Linked DNA regions of Homo sapiens: region 2 is linked to region 1. Evidence: promoter capture Hi-C in 16 types of primary human blood cells and fetal thymus (Javierre and others, 2016). All regions are on one chromosome and are shown on one strand. The core of a region is centred on a gene start or on the middle of the fragment in contact, and the rest is flanking DNA. Distances in the headings are between cores, read along the strand shown. Region 1 holds the start of MIR22HG (MIR22 host gene). Region 2 overlaps RPA1 (replication protein A1).

Region 1 (6,561 bases), core at 2,136-4,635:
ACTGTGCCTGGCCACATTTTTAATTTTTTTTTTTTTTTCTTTTTTTGAGACGGAGTCTTGCTCTGTCACCCAGGCTGGAGTGCAGTGGCCCAATCTTGGCTCACTGCAAAGCTCCGCCTCCTGGGTTCACGCCACTCTCCTGCCTCAGCCTCCCAAGTAGCTGGGCACTACAGGCGCCCGCCACCACGCCCGGCTAATTGTTTGTATGTTTATTAGAGACGGGGTTTCACAGTGTTAGCCAGGATGTTCTCCATCTCCTGACCTCGTGATCCGCCTGCCTCAGCCTCCCAAAGTGCTGGGATTACAGGCATGAGCCACCGCGCCCGGGCACATTTTTAACTTTTAAAATATTTTTAAATGTTGAAATCCCTACAACAAGGCTTGAATTCCTTATTCACCGTATGTTGTAGATGAGGGGAAATTATCGGTAACAAGTTCACAGCTAGTAAGAGCTGGAATTTGAATCTAAGTGTGCCTAACACAGTAGTTCTCAGTTGGAGGAGATTTTGGCCCCTAGGAGACATTTGGTAACGTCTGGAGATACTTTTGGTTGTCAAAACTGGGAGCTGGGGGTGGGTGGGTGTTGCCACTGACATCTAGGACAGAGGCCAGGGACCACGTGGATGTCCTATTGTGCACCCGGTAGCCCTCCCACAAGAAATTATTCTACTTAAAATGCCAGTGGGTGCTGAGGTGGCGAAACCCTGGACTCGAAGCCTGTGCTTTTGACCTAGGGGGTGGGGTCAGTGTTCAGAACAAAATGGAAAAGGGTCACCCCAAGGGCCGTGAGTGGGAAAGGGATGGGATTTCTATGCTCAGGATAATGGAGAATAGGGGCCACTGGTGAGGCTTCACTTCCTTCCATGCTTGGCCAGGGCCCTGCTCAATTTCTCCACGCCTTGCCAAGTCAGTCCTAGGACTTCACACTAAGCTTGTCCTGGAGTGACCCTGACTCCCAACTCAGGATCGAGGCAAAATATTTACCTGGGTCTTCCCAGCACTTCCCAGCCAAAGACGCTGGCTTCTGGGGCCAACGTGTCCCACCTGCAGTCCTTGAGCAATTAGGACCCTTGCTATGGGGGGTGGCCATGTGGGCAGGGCACCGCCAAAAGCCAAAAATGGAGCGGCCCAGGGACCAGGTGGCAGCTGAGAACAGTTAGAAGTGGAGTGAATGCGGCCGGGCGCGGTGGCTCACACGCCTATAATCCTAGCACTTTGGGAGACCGAGGCGGGTGGATCACCTGAGGTGAGGAGTTCGAGACCAGCCTGGCCCACATGGCAAAACACCATCTCTACTAAAAATACAAAAATTAGCTGGGAGTGGTAGCGCACGCCTGTAATCCCAGCTACTCAGGAGGCTGAAGGAGGAGAATCGCTTGAACCCGGGAGGTGGAGGTTGCAGTGAGCCGAGATCGCGCCACTGCACTCCAGCCTGGGCAACAGAGCGAGACTCTGTCTCAAAAACAGAAAAAAAAAAAATAAATAAGGAGGTGGAGTAAATGGGCAAAAGCAGGAGGATCCCATCAGCAGACACCTGTCCATGGAGGAATAGGGCAACTTGAGTAGGAAGTAGGGGGCGGCTGGCCTGAGAAGCAGCGTTCTGAACCCCAAGTTTGCTTCCCATAGCCATTCCTCCTCCCCAGGCTTGGTCCTCGGGTTCACTGTACCCTCCCCAGCGCCAGCCACCATTCTGGACCTCCCCAGTACTGGCCTTCCCCTAGACCAGGGAGGGTCTAGACCACAGAGTCTGAATTTACTGTGCTAACAGGAAATACCTCTCTTTCCAAGCCCAGAGCCTCTGAAGAACTAAGGAGCAGAGCGGGGTTGGGGTTGGGGGAGACAGTCTTGGAGTGATGGGGGAAAAGAAAGATCATACAATCACATCCCCCACGTTCTTTCCTTCACCACCCATGGGAGTGGATAAGGGGATGGAGGAGGGTAAGCAAGGAGGAGGATGTGGTAACAGCTGATTCGTCCCCAGAGGTCACACTTTCCAACAATCAGCTGTTACTGGGGCGCAAGGCAGGAAGTTTCCTTAAAGGCGCAATGTCCTGAACGCAGGCTCAGAATTTTGGAGCTCCAAGTGAACCTTATCAATTACCTGATGGAGTGCGTATTTAACAGAAGGAAGGATCTCACCCTCCAGCCTCATCATTCCTGCTTAGTTACCCTCAGCCCCTATTTGGAGCTGAAGGAAAAGGCATGGATTTCAGTCCACATGTTCCTCTTTGGGGGACTTGCGGGGATTGATAAGGTAGGGCAGGTCTCCGGCTTGCCCCTTTAAAAACGCCGACCAGCAGCTTTTGCCAAGTCACTGGGTTCATTTCACTTTTTGCCCATCCCCCGCTCATCTAGACTCTGATTGGCCCCTGGGGAAGGAGCAGCCTGCTCATTGGTCTCCACCTTCGAATCTCTTCCCTAAGTAGGCCTGAGTCAGTGAAGAGCTTTGGAGGGCGGGACTGAATGGGGGTTAATCAGAGGATGCGATTGCTGACCCTTTGCACTTTGGCATGGCCCATCCCCTAATTTCTGACCAGAAGCCCTCCCTCTACCCTAAGGTGAGGACTGTGCTATGAATCTTTTGTTAGAAAGCTACCTCTTGGGAGGCTCTGGGGGCTCTTCTGGGACTGGGAAGAGACATCCAAGAAAAAAAGCCTCCTGTGGTTAGGAAGAGCCCCCAGGAGGAGTGGGCTGGGCGAGGCGAGCACCCTCCCTCCTCCAAAAACCCTGGAGAGCTCTCCAACGGCAGTCTCTGCTGCCCTGGGGGCTGACGCTCTGCCCACTCCTGCTCCTTGGTCCGCTCCACCTTTCCTTAAAGAGCTATAGCGTCCCGCAGAGGCCGGCGAGTCAGTTTGGGGAATGTCTAAAAGAAGCACTCACGACTCCAACAAGGAGGGGCTGTCGCCCTTTAAGGACTTCCCCGGGCTGGATTCCGAGCTCAGTTTAAAAATGCCAACTCACAGAGCGCGCTGGGTTCTGGGAACGACGGTGTCAGGCTGAGAACTACACGGACCAGCATGCATTGCAAACGCAGACGCCGTGGCTTTCGCCTGCTCTTTAGGACTCTCGTTTGACGTAGCGCTTTTCTAAGCGGGTCGCTGACGCGGAGGGCTGGGCCACACCTGTCCGTCTATTGGCCGGCTCCTCAGTGGGTGGGCGTGGCTTCGTGCAATTCCGCCCGGCAAAAGGGTGGCCTCCTTGCCAATCAGAGCCAGGGCGCCCGGAGAGGCGGGACCAGGGCGAGGCCCCGTCGGCCCCCGGGTGGGCGGGGCCACGTTGCCCAGCAGTGGGCGGTGATTGGCCCCGGGCCGTGCATTCGCAGCTCGTGCGTCACGACGCCGCCAGCTGATCGGAGCCTGGAGCCGGTGTGTGCTGGGTGCCGAGAAGAGACAGCGCCGCCGGCCGTGGGGAGCGGACGCAGTGATTTGCTCCCCCTCGTGCAGCAACCCCCACACCCAGCACCAGGTGGGTGTGAGCTGGCGACCCGGTCACGCAGCGGGGAGCCGCGGTAACGGGATGGAGGGTGAAAGTGGGGTCCGGGCGGCCACACCCAGCCCTTCCGGGAGGAGAAGGGGCGGCGGGGGCAGGGGCGCCTCGGGGAGAGGGGCCTGGACTGGCCGGGTTAGTGTGTCAGGAGCTACGAGGAAAGAGTCTGGGACGGGAGTCGTGGCGGAAGGGCTGGCGGAGTGGCGGGGGGCGGGGGGAGAGCCGAGGGGCCGGAGGGCCGGGGGCGGCTCACCCGGCGGCCCCCGGTCTGAGGATACAGGGGCCGGCCATCTAGCCTGGGGAGGGTCTGGACCCCCCGAGCGGGCGGCGAGGAGGTGCTTTGCCTCTGCCGGCGTTCACTGGGTCAGGGCCAGTTCAGCGCCCTGGCAGGGAAGGGGTCGCTGGGCGGGCCGGCCCCTCCTCTCGTTCTCTCCAGGGGATGTTATGTAAGGGGGGAGGGGAGAGGAGTAGGGGGCGGCGGTGCCGGGGCCTTATGCAACCCAAAGGTTAGGGTTTCACCGTGGTTGGGCGGGGGGAAGAGGGCAAGAGGAGGGCCTGGAAACTCTAACCCCCGCTCCCCAGACTAACTGGCCGTCTTGGGCCGAGAGAAGGTCACCTCTGCACCTCCCCCCAGCCTGTCCGATTGTGAGGCCCCTAGCCCAGGCCTGGCCCTGACTGCCTGGGAAGCCGGCTGGCTGGGTGGGGCGCCTGGGTTAGTCATCACTGGGCTGCCTCTCTCCCCACCTCTCGGCCAACTCTTGGCCCCTCCCCATGGCCTCCGGCGAGGCTGTCACCCCCACCTCCCTCCGGCCCTGGTTCCAGCCTCCAACTCCTTTGGCCTGTCATCCTGGCTGTCAGATTGGGCTAGGAGCTGTCAGAGTGCCAGAGGGTTGATGGAGCAGCTGGTCAGAGGGTCAGTGCCCTGGGCCCACCCCGCCCTGCAGCCAAGGGCACCTGCTTGGCACAGACTCTCAGCAGCTGCTGAGTCCTCTGGGTTGAACAGAGCTATCTCAGACAGAGGAAGGTCGGACGGAGTTGGACTGGTCACCCAGGGGAAGGAAGATACACAAAGTTCATGCCTCCCAAGAGGGTTTCGGAATTTGAACCGCACCCCGTATCCCCCAATCTTTCTTACCCTCTGAGTATAGAAATTCCAAGGCAAGACCGCCTTGGCCCCTCAGCCTGGCGTGGGCCATGCCCTTGGACTGAGTGTCAGCACGGACCCGCCCTCCCCAGCTCACATCCCCCGAGCCTGCCACGCCCCCAGCCCCCTCCCTGGGCCATGCTGCAGGGCCCGGCTTTTCCTGCTGATTCATGCGTTGGAACTGTGGGGGCGGGGCTTGGAACTTGGAACAAAGTTCAGACATGGAGGGGCCGGCAGACAGCCTGGAATTCATACCAGATGTACCCGGAATGCGCAAGCGGAATGCCTGGCATCTGAGAGTCCTGGGGAAGCTGCCCAGCCACCCTGCCCATACCTCCCTCCCCTCCAGCCTGTGGTCCCCTGCCCGCCCCTCACAGCCCCGGCCACCCTGCCGATACCTCCCTCCTCTCCAGCCTGTGGTCCCCTGTCCGCCCCTCACAGCCCCGGGGGCCTCTGCTGACCTTCTTTCAAACGCTAGGCCTCCTCCCTTCCTCACTCTTCCCCAATCCAGGCCCCCAGAACTCTCCTTCCAGCTGAACTCCCTGGGAACAAGTCAGTTGGGCTGATCACTGAACTCACATTTCTGGACCTGAGGTACCACACTTCTAGTACCTGCGTGCTGGTGGGGTGTGTCCAGGGTCCCGGGCCCCACCCTGTCTGAATGCTGAGGAGGCTGGGCCCCCAGGGGCCGCTAGGGCAGGGGAGGGTGAGAGCAGGACTGGGTTTCTCTAGACTCCAGTTCTGGAAAGAAGAGCAAGGGAAGTCTGTTTACAGCCACCTCTTGCTGCTCAGCGAGGTTAACAGCTTCCGCGGGCCCAGATCAGAGCTGCAGCCCTGCATTAGAATCTCAGAGGTCTACTGGGGCAGGACCCTGATGGCCAGCGAGTGGGTCAGCGTTGCAGCAACATGCCCTGCTCAGATCTTTCCCATTTTCCCTCCCTTTCCCTTAGGAGCCTGTTCCTCTCACGCCCTCACCTGGCTGAGCCGCAGTAGTTCTTCAGTGGCAAGCTTTATGTCCTGACCCAGCTAAAGCTGCCAGTTGAAGAACTGTTGCCCTCTGCCCCTGGCTTCGAGGAGGAGGAGGAGCTGCTTTCCCCATCATCTGGAAGGTGACAGAAATGGGCTGGGAAGGTCCGAACAGCAGGGTGGATGATACGTTTTGGGCAAGTTGGAGAGCCTTTGCCCAGATTGGCCCAGCAAGGAGCGGTTTTAGATTAGAGACACTGGCTGGATTGAGGAGTAGAAGGCTCAAACAACCCAAGGTTAGTTGGTCTTTGTGTGACAGTGGGAAGAAGTGGAGAGAACACTCTGTCTCCCCGACTTCCTTCTTGACCCTCCTTCCGTATCTTTCATTCTTCCCCACTGGCCTTTCCAGATGAGGTCCAAAAGTAAGCTCACTCTTCAGGGAAAAGTGATACTAAACCCAGGCGTGAGGAGTCATCCTTCTGCTCTTACTTTTCCCTGCATTTCCTTAGGCTGGCCCAGACTCTAGATTCCTGGGCACTTACCTGTATCTGAGACCCTTAGACCTCCTGTCTCAGTTTCTCCACCTGTGAGATGGGCAGTCACACAGATGAGTGTGCATGAGGGAATCAGAAGCCCATCTGGGTTGACTCAGAACCCGGGCTCTCCCCCTGCTGTGGGTGGAAACAAAACACCTTTTCACAGAAGCTGTTGTCCCTCCCCCATCCCTGATACCATCACCCAGAAGCTGGGTGGGGAATGGGAAGCTGGAGGAGGGGGTTAGAGTTAGACCAATGCGAGGAGCTAGTAAGAGCTCGCCTCTCCGTGACTTCCCCCCATGCAAGGGTGGCCCAAGGCTTCCCCTGATATCCAAAGCAGGACAGCAGCCCCTTGGTGGGATTCTAACTGCTGCTACTCTGTTTCTTTCCTCACTTTGCTTTCCAAGGTGGTATGTGATCCCCAGCTCA
Region 2 (6,561 bases), core at 1,804-4,303, 130 kb before region 1:
AATGGGAACATGACTGGAGGCAGGGAGACCAAGAGAAGAGACAAAATGACAGAGGCCTGAATGAGGTTAGTGGCAAGGGAGCTGAAGAAACAGGCCTAGGGCAATATTTAAGCAATAATCTACCCAAATTCATCACGTTTTAGACTTTAAATGGTCTGACTGCTGTTTTTGGATTTTTACATACAATCAATCGTTTGTTTTAAATGGTCTGACTGCTATAATTTGGATTTTTACATACAATCAATCAGTGTGTGCTACCCTTATCAGGTTTCACATCAGAGTTTCAATAAGATAAGCCTGAAATTATCTGTTCCTGAAAATGGTATCTAGATTCCCTGTAATAACTATCTGATACTTAGTGGCAGATATTTAACTACTTTCCAAATTATACAAATCACTCCAGAACATATAAAAATAGAAGGCCTATGAATCATTTAGTATGACTCTAATACTAAAACCTAAGACAAAACACACACACAAAACCAAAACTAATTTCATCCTGCAATATCCCATAAATCCTAAATAAAATATCAGCAAGATGAACCTAGCAGCATATTAAAAGAATACACTAATATCAACTTACAGAGAATACAGATGACAAGGACACATTAAGTGACTTTACAGGGATGCAATCAGCCAAATCCAGACTGGGGGAAACTGCACAAGGTGAAGGATAAATGACCTGGTTTCTTCAGCAAATAAACAGTAAAGGAGAAAAAAGGCAGACGCAGAGCCTACAGATTCAGAGAGACTTAACAGACCATCAATCTACCGTCACAGGAAACTTATTTTGGATTCTGATTCATATAGATTGTGTGGGCACACACACACACACGCACACGCACATACACACGCACATATACAACAAGATGGAAATACAACACGGACGGTATTTTTTTAGGTGTGAAATGGGATAGTGTCTTTTTAAGAGTTTTTATCTTTCAAAAATACATACTAAAATATTTATGGATGAAATAATATGATGTCTGAGATTTACCTCAAAATTACAGAGGATAGTGGACGTTGAAAGGATGGAGCTAGAGCAAAACTGGACAACAGATGACAATTTGGAGCTGAATGATGGGCTATATGGGGATTCATCAGACTACTGTGTATTCTGTCTATGTTTGTAGATGTTTAAAGTTTTCCAGAAAAAAGATTTTTAAAAATAAAAAGAGAAAATTAGCAAGCTAAGATAATTCTTATTTTTTTTTTTGAGAGAGAGAGTCTCACTCTGTCACCCAGGCTGGAGCGCAGTGGCACAATCTCAGCTCACTGCAACCTCCGCCTCCCAGGTTCAAGCAATTTTCCTGCCTCGGCCTCTTGAGTAGCTGGGATTACAGGCACCCGCCACCACACCTAATTTTTGTATTTTTAGTAGAGACAGGGTTTCACCATGTTGGCCAGGCTGGTCTCGAACTCCCCATCTCAGGTGATCCACCTGCCTCAGCCTCCCAAAGTGCTGGGATTACAAGCATGAGCCACCAGCACAGCCTAGGATTTTTTTTTAAGGCAGGATTTATTGCAAGAATGAAACAAGAGTTGAATTATTAGGCAATCCTTTTTTTTTTTTGAGACGGAGTCTTGCTCTGTCACCCAGGCTAGAGTACAGTGGGGCAATCTCAACTCACTGCAACCTCCGCCTCCTGGTTTCAAGTGATTCTCTTGCCTCAGCCTCCCGAGTAGCTGGGACTATTAGGTGTGTGCCTCCATGCCTGGCTAATTTTTGTATTTTCAGTAGAGATGGTGTTTCACCATGTTGGCCAGCCAGGCTGGTCTTGAACTCCCCACCTCAGGTGATCCACCTGCATTGGCCTCCCAAGGTGCTGGGATTACAGGCGTGAGCCACCAGCCTAGCCCTAGGATTATTTTTTTAAGGCAGGATTTATCGCAAGAATGAAACAAGAGTTGAATATTAGGTAATCTTTTTTTTTTTTTGAGATGGAGTCTTGCCCTGTCGCCCAGGCTAGAGTGCAGTGGGGCGATCTCAACTCACTGCAACCTCCATCTCCCGGGTTCAAGTGATTCTCCTGCCTCAGTCCCCCGAGTAGCTGGGACTATAGGCATGTGCCACCACGCCTGGCTAATTTTTGTATTTTCAGTAGAGACAGGGTTTCACCATGTTGGCCAGGCTGGTCTCGAACTCCTGACCTCAAGTGATCCACCCACCTCGGCCTCCTAAAGTGTTGAGATTACAGGCATGAGCCACCACGTCCAGCCTAGATAATCTATTAAAATAGTTCATTAAATATGATCATATCAAGATGTAGTAAAAGCTTTGAAAGAATTTACGAGCCATTTCTGATGAAATCCTGAGGACTTAAAAAATAAAACCTGCACCTGGTAAACTGCGCGTTTTTCCACGATCAACACTGCATTGAACAGTGAAACCAAAAGCATTTCCATGAAAATCAGGCAACTGCTGACATTACCATCGTCCAACAAAGTTTTGACAGCGCTGTCAATACAGTAAAATTAAAAAAAAAAAAAACAAAATGACAAATATGAGAATAAGGAATGCCGGGTGCGGTGGCTCACGCCTGTAATCCCAGCACTTTGGGAGGCCGAGGTGGGCAGATCATGAGGTCAGGAGATCGAGATCATCCTGGCTAACACAGTGAAACCCCGTCTATACTAAAAATACAAAAAATTAGCCGGGCGTGGCGGTGGGCACCTGTAGTCCCAGCTACTGGGGAGGCTGAGGCAGGAGAATGGCGTGAACCCGGGAGGCGGAGCTTGCAGTGAGCCGAGATCGCACCACTGCACTCCAGCCTGAGAGACAGAGCGAGACTCCGTCTCAAAAAAAAAAAAAAAAAAAAAGAACAGCCAACAAAAATTTGGAGGGAAAAAGTAAAGAAAGACCTTGTCTATAAACTACTAAATAGTCTACAGAGAAGTTTAACTGAAACTCTATGGAGTGTAATTTGAAGTACTGGCAAGAACGGGGAGAAACTCCACACTCACGCGCTGTTGGCAGGGAGGTAAACTGGTGTACACACTTTGAACAATAGCCTCAAAAAGTTAACCATAAAATGACCATTTAGCCTAGCAATTCCTTTCCTAGACAGATTATCTATAAAAGAAATGGAAACGTCTGTCCACAAAAAACTTGTACACAAATGTTCATAGAATTATTAGTAATAGCAAGCAGGCAGAAATAATCCGAATGCCCATCAACTAACGAATAGATACACAAAATGTGATGTATCTAGACAACAGAGTATTATTCTGCCATAAAAAGGAACAGGCTGGGTGCGGTGGCTCACACCTGTAATCCTAGGACTTTGGGAGGCCGAGGTGGGTGGATCACAAGGTCAGGAGTTTAAGGCCAGCCTGGCCAAGATGGTGAAACCCCGTCTCTACTAAAAATACAAAAAAATTAGCCAGGCATGGTGGTGCACATCTGTAATCCCAGCTACCCAGGAGGCTGAGGCAGAGAATTGCTTGAACTCGGGAGGCAGAGGTTGTAGTGAGCCGAGATGGCACCATTGCACTCCAGCCTGGGCAAGAAAAACTTGTCACCCAGGATGGAGTACAATGGCGCAATCTTGACTCACTGCAACTTCTGCCTCCCGGGTTGAAGCAATTCTCCTGCCTCAGCCTCCCGAGTAGCTGGGATTACAGGCATGTGCCACCATGCCCGGCTGATTTTTGTATTTTTAGTAGAGACGGGTTTCACCATGTTGACCAGGCTGGTCTCAAACTCCTGACCTCAGGTGATCTGCCTGCCTCAGCCTCCCAAAGTGCTGGGATTACAGGCATGAGCCACCGTGCCTGGCTGATAATTATTCTTTAAAATATGACTAATACACAGTATGTTGACAAGCTTAATGGCAAACACTTCTTTTTAAATAACATGTTTATTGAGATATCATTCACGTACCATAATGAACTCACCCTTCCAGAGTGGATAATCCTATGGGTTTTGCATTTTGCAGTTATGCAAGCATCACCACTACCTCACTTTAGAACACTGTTGTCATCAGCAAAAGAAACCATGTGTACAATGACAGTCACTCCACACTCTACCACCCCTGAGAACCAGTCATTGAATTTGTTTCTATGGATTTGTCTATTCAGAGATACGCTTTTTTTTTTTGGAGATGGGGTCTTGCTCTGTAACCGAGGCTGGAGTCTCGGCTCACTGCAACCTCCGCCTCTTGGGTTCAAGCGATTCTCCTGCCTCAGCCTCCTGAGTAGCTGAGATTACAGGCCGCACCCGCCACCACGCCCAGCTAATTTGTGTATTTTTAGTAGAGATGGGGTTTCACCATGTTGGCCAGGCTGGTTTCGATCTCCTGTCCTTGTGATCTGCCCCGCCTCAGCCTCTCAAAGTGCTGGGATTACAGGCCTGAGCCACTGTGCCTGGCCAATAGATACTCTTATATAACATTTATGAGTATAATTAGTATACTTTCCACAGATGTCCGTTGACCCCACAATACAAATTCTAATGATCTGTTATTCAGAAATAAAAGCATAAACACGTTAAGATAAAGTACAAGGATGACTGCTCAAGTCCTGTTTAGAATAAACCTGAATGATCACCAAAAAAGCAAGGAGTAAATAAACCCAGCCGCACACACAGGCTCTCAGCAGAGGTACAAAAGAATATGAGGCAAGCCTGCAAGCTGAGGCAGTGCCATCAGGCAAAGCCCAGGGGAGTGGAGCTGTCTCCGTGACTGGAGAGAGTGGGCTGTGAAGTTTCCCAGCAAGGACTGCACTCAATCCCAGCAACACTTCCACCCTCTCCCACAACCATGCCCTGGAGGACAGAAAAGTGGCTGCAAAACACCACTTAAGCGCTCCAAGATAGCCTGGAGTGGAAGATAAAAGGTCCCAAGTGAGAAGGTTGGCAACATGTACCTAGCCTAGACTATGTCAGAGCAAATACCAAGTCTGGACAGGACTGTCCACATTAAGCATGAACAAAATAAAAAGGGATGATGACAAAGCAACAATACAATACACAACAATGCATAAAAGGGAAAGCAACAGGGAGGCAAAGCCGATTAAAGAACCCACTCTGGAAGAAAGTACAAGCCAAGAAAAGGAGTGACACTTCCCAAAAGCGATTGGCAAAATAAGTACGACTATATGAATCCAACAAATTAACAGTCAAAAGATGAGCTAAAACAAGAGACTAAGAAGAAAAGGGAGCTTGAACAGCTAAGAAAAAAACAGAACAAAATCAATACTATTATACATCTAATAATTTATAAAGATTGAGGAGTAGAAGAGAGAAAACTAAAAACTGTACTATTACGTTGGAAAACCTCGAAGCAAGCCAATGCATCCATCAGAAAAAAGGTTAAAGTAAAGACCTATGCGGAGATCAAAGTTATCTACAACGTATGTAAAAAACTGGAACTCAATAAGTGAAATAGAAAACAACATTAAGGAATAACACACAGAAAAACTTCGTTGAAAAGAACTGAATCGGCAGACTGAACAAGCATACCACATACCAGAAGAAAAAAGAATATGGACGGCCGGCCACGGTGGCTCACGCCTGTAATCCCAGCACTTTGGGAGGCTGAGGCAGGTGGATCACGAGGTCAGGAGATCGAGACCATCCTGGCTAACATGGTGAAACCCCGTCTCTACTAAAAATACAAAACAAAATTAGCCAGGCGTGGTGGTGGGCGCCTGTAGTCCCAGCTACTCGGGAGGCTGAGGTGGGAGAATCACCTGAGCCCGGGAGGTCAAGGCTACAGTGAGCCCTGATGGTGCCACTGCACTCCCGCCTGGGCAACCAGAGTGAGGCCTCAGGAGAAAAAAAAAAAAAAAAAAAAAAAGCAAAGCTTCCTACAAGGGAAGAAATCAAACCAGGCTGGCCTTAAGACTTCTCCAGATCAACATTCAATGCCAGAAGACAAAATTCTGAGGGTAAAGCCACATAACCTAACAATAGACAGCCAGGCAAGTGGTCATTCTAGCATAAAGACCAACAGGCTGATAATGGGGAAGACGGCACTAAAGAGCCAGTCCAGAAAAAAGTTATTGAGTGAAATCCAACCAACACAGAGATAAAGAGGTAGGAAAAAAGAACAGCTGGAGAAAATGTAAGAGTCCTAAAATCAGTATAACAGAATTTAAAAAACTAATTACTTAAACCTCTTAGTATTGTTATCATTTTTTATCTCGGTTTTTGTTGTTGTTGTTTTGGTCTTTTTTGAGACAGGGTCTTACTCTCCTGCCCAGCCTGGAGTGCAGTGGCGTGATCTCAGCTCACTGCAACCTTCACCTCTCAGGGCTCAGGCCACTCTCTCTCCTCAGCCTTCCGAGTAGCTGGGACCACAGGCACATGTCATAACGCCCAGCTAACTTTTCCTTTTTTTCGTAGAGACAAGGTCTCACCATATTGTCCAGGCTGGTTGCAAACTCCTGGGCTCAAGTGATCCTCCCTACCTGGTCTCCCAAAGTGTTGGCATGACAGGTGTGAGCCACTGCACCTTGCCTGAAATCAGTCATGTTTTAGCAATGAGAGTAACAGTTCTGTTCATCACTGTATCTCTAGCATGCAGTAACTTGTCCGTGTACAACACATTCTTTTTTTAA

Evidence for each region. Contacts are between HindIII fragments. The CHiCAGO score rates a contact against its expected background, and 5 or more counts as called.
Region 2: a fragment that was not itself captured here is called in contact with the fragment with the promoter of MIR22HG in region 1 in 3 of 17 cell types (M0 macrophages, M1 macrophages and megakaryocytes); the score reaches 7.3 in M0 macrophages.

What each region holds. Positions count from the first base shown.
Region 1 is chr17:1,713,034-1,719,594 of GRCh38, reverse strand. It overlaps MIR22HG (MIR22 host gene), which reads left to right and starts at 3,385. Exons shown (of 3, transcript NR_028505.2): 1 at 3,385-3,465; 2 at 5,581-5,892. MIR22 (microRNA 22) reads left to right here and starts at 5,608; the gene lies at 5,608-5,692. It also overlaps a transcript of WDR81 not described here. RefSeq lists an enhancer at 2,597-3,238. The HindIII fragment of the contact is 4,707 bases long and covers 934-5,640 here.
Region 2 is chr17:1,845,549-1,852,109 of GRCh38, reverse strand. The region is part of intron 4 of RPA1 (replication protein A1); the gene reads right to left. Among named protein-coding and RNA genes, the nearest start is that of RPA1, 19 kb to the right of the region's middle. The HindIII fragment of the contact is 1,550 bases long and covers 2,279-3,828 here.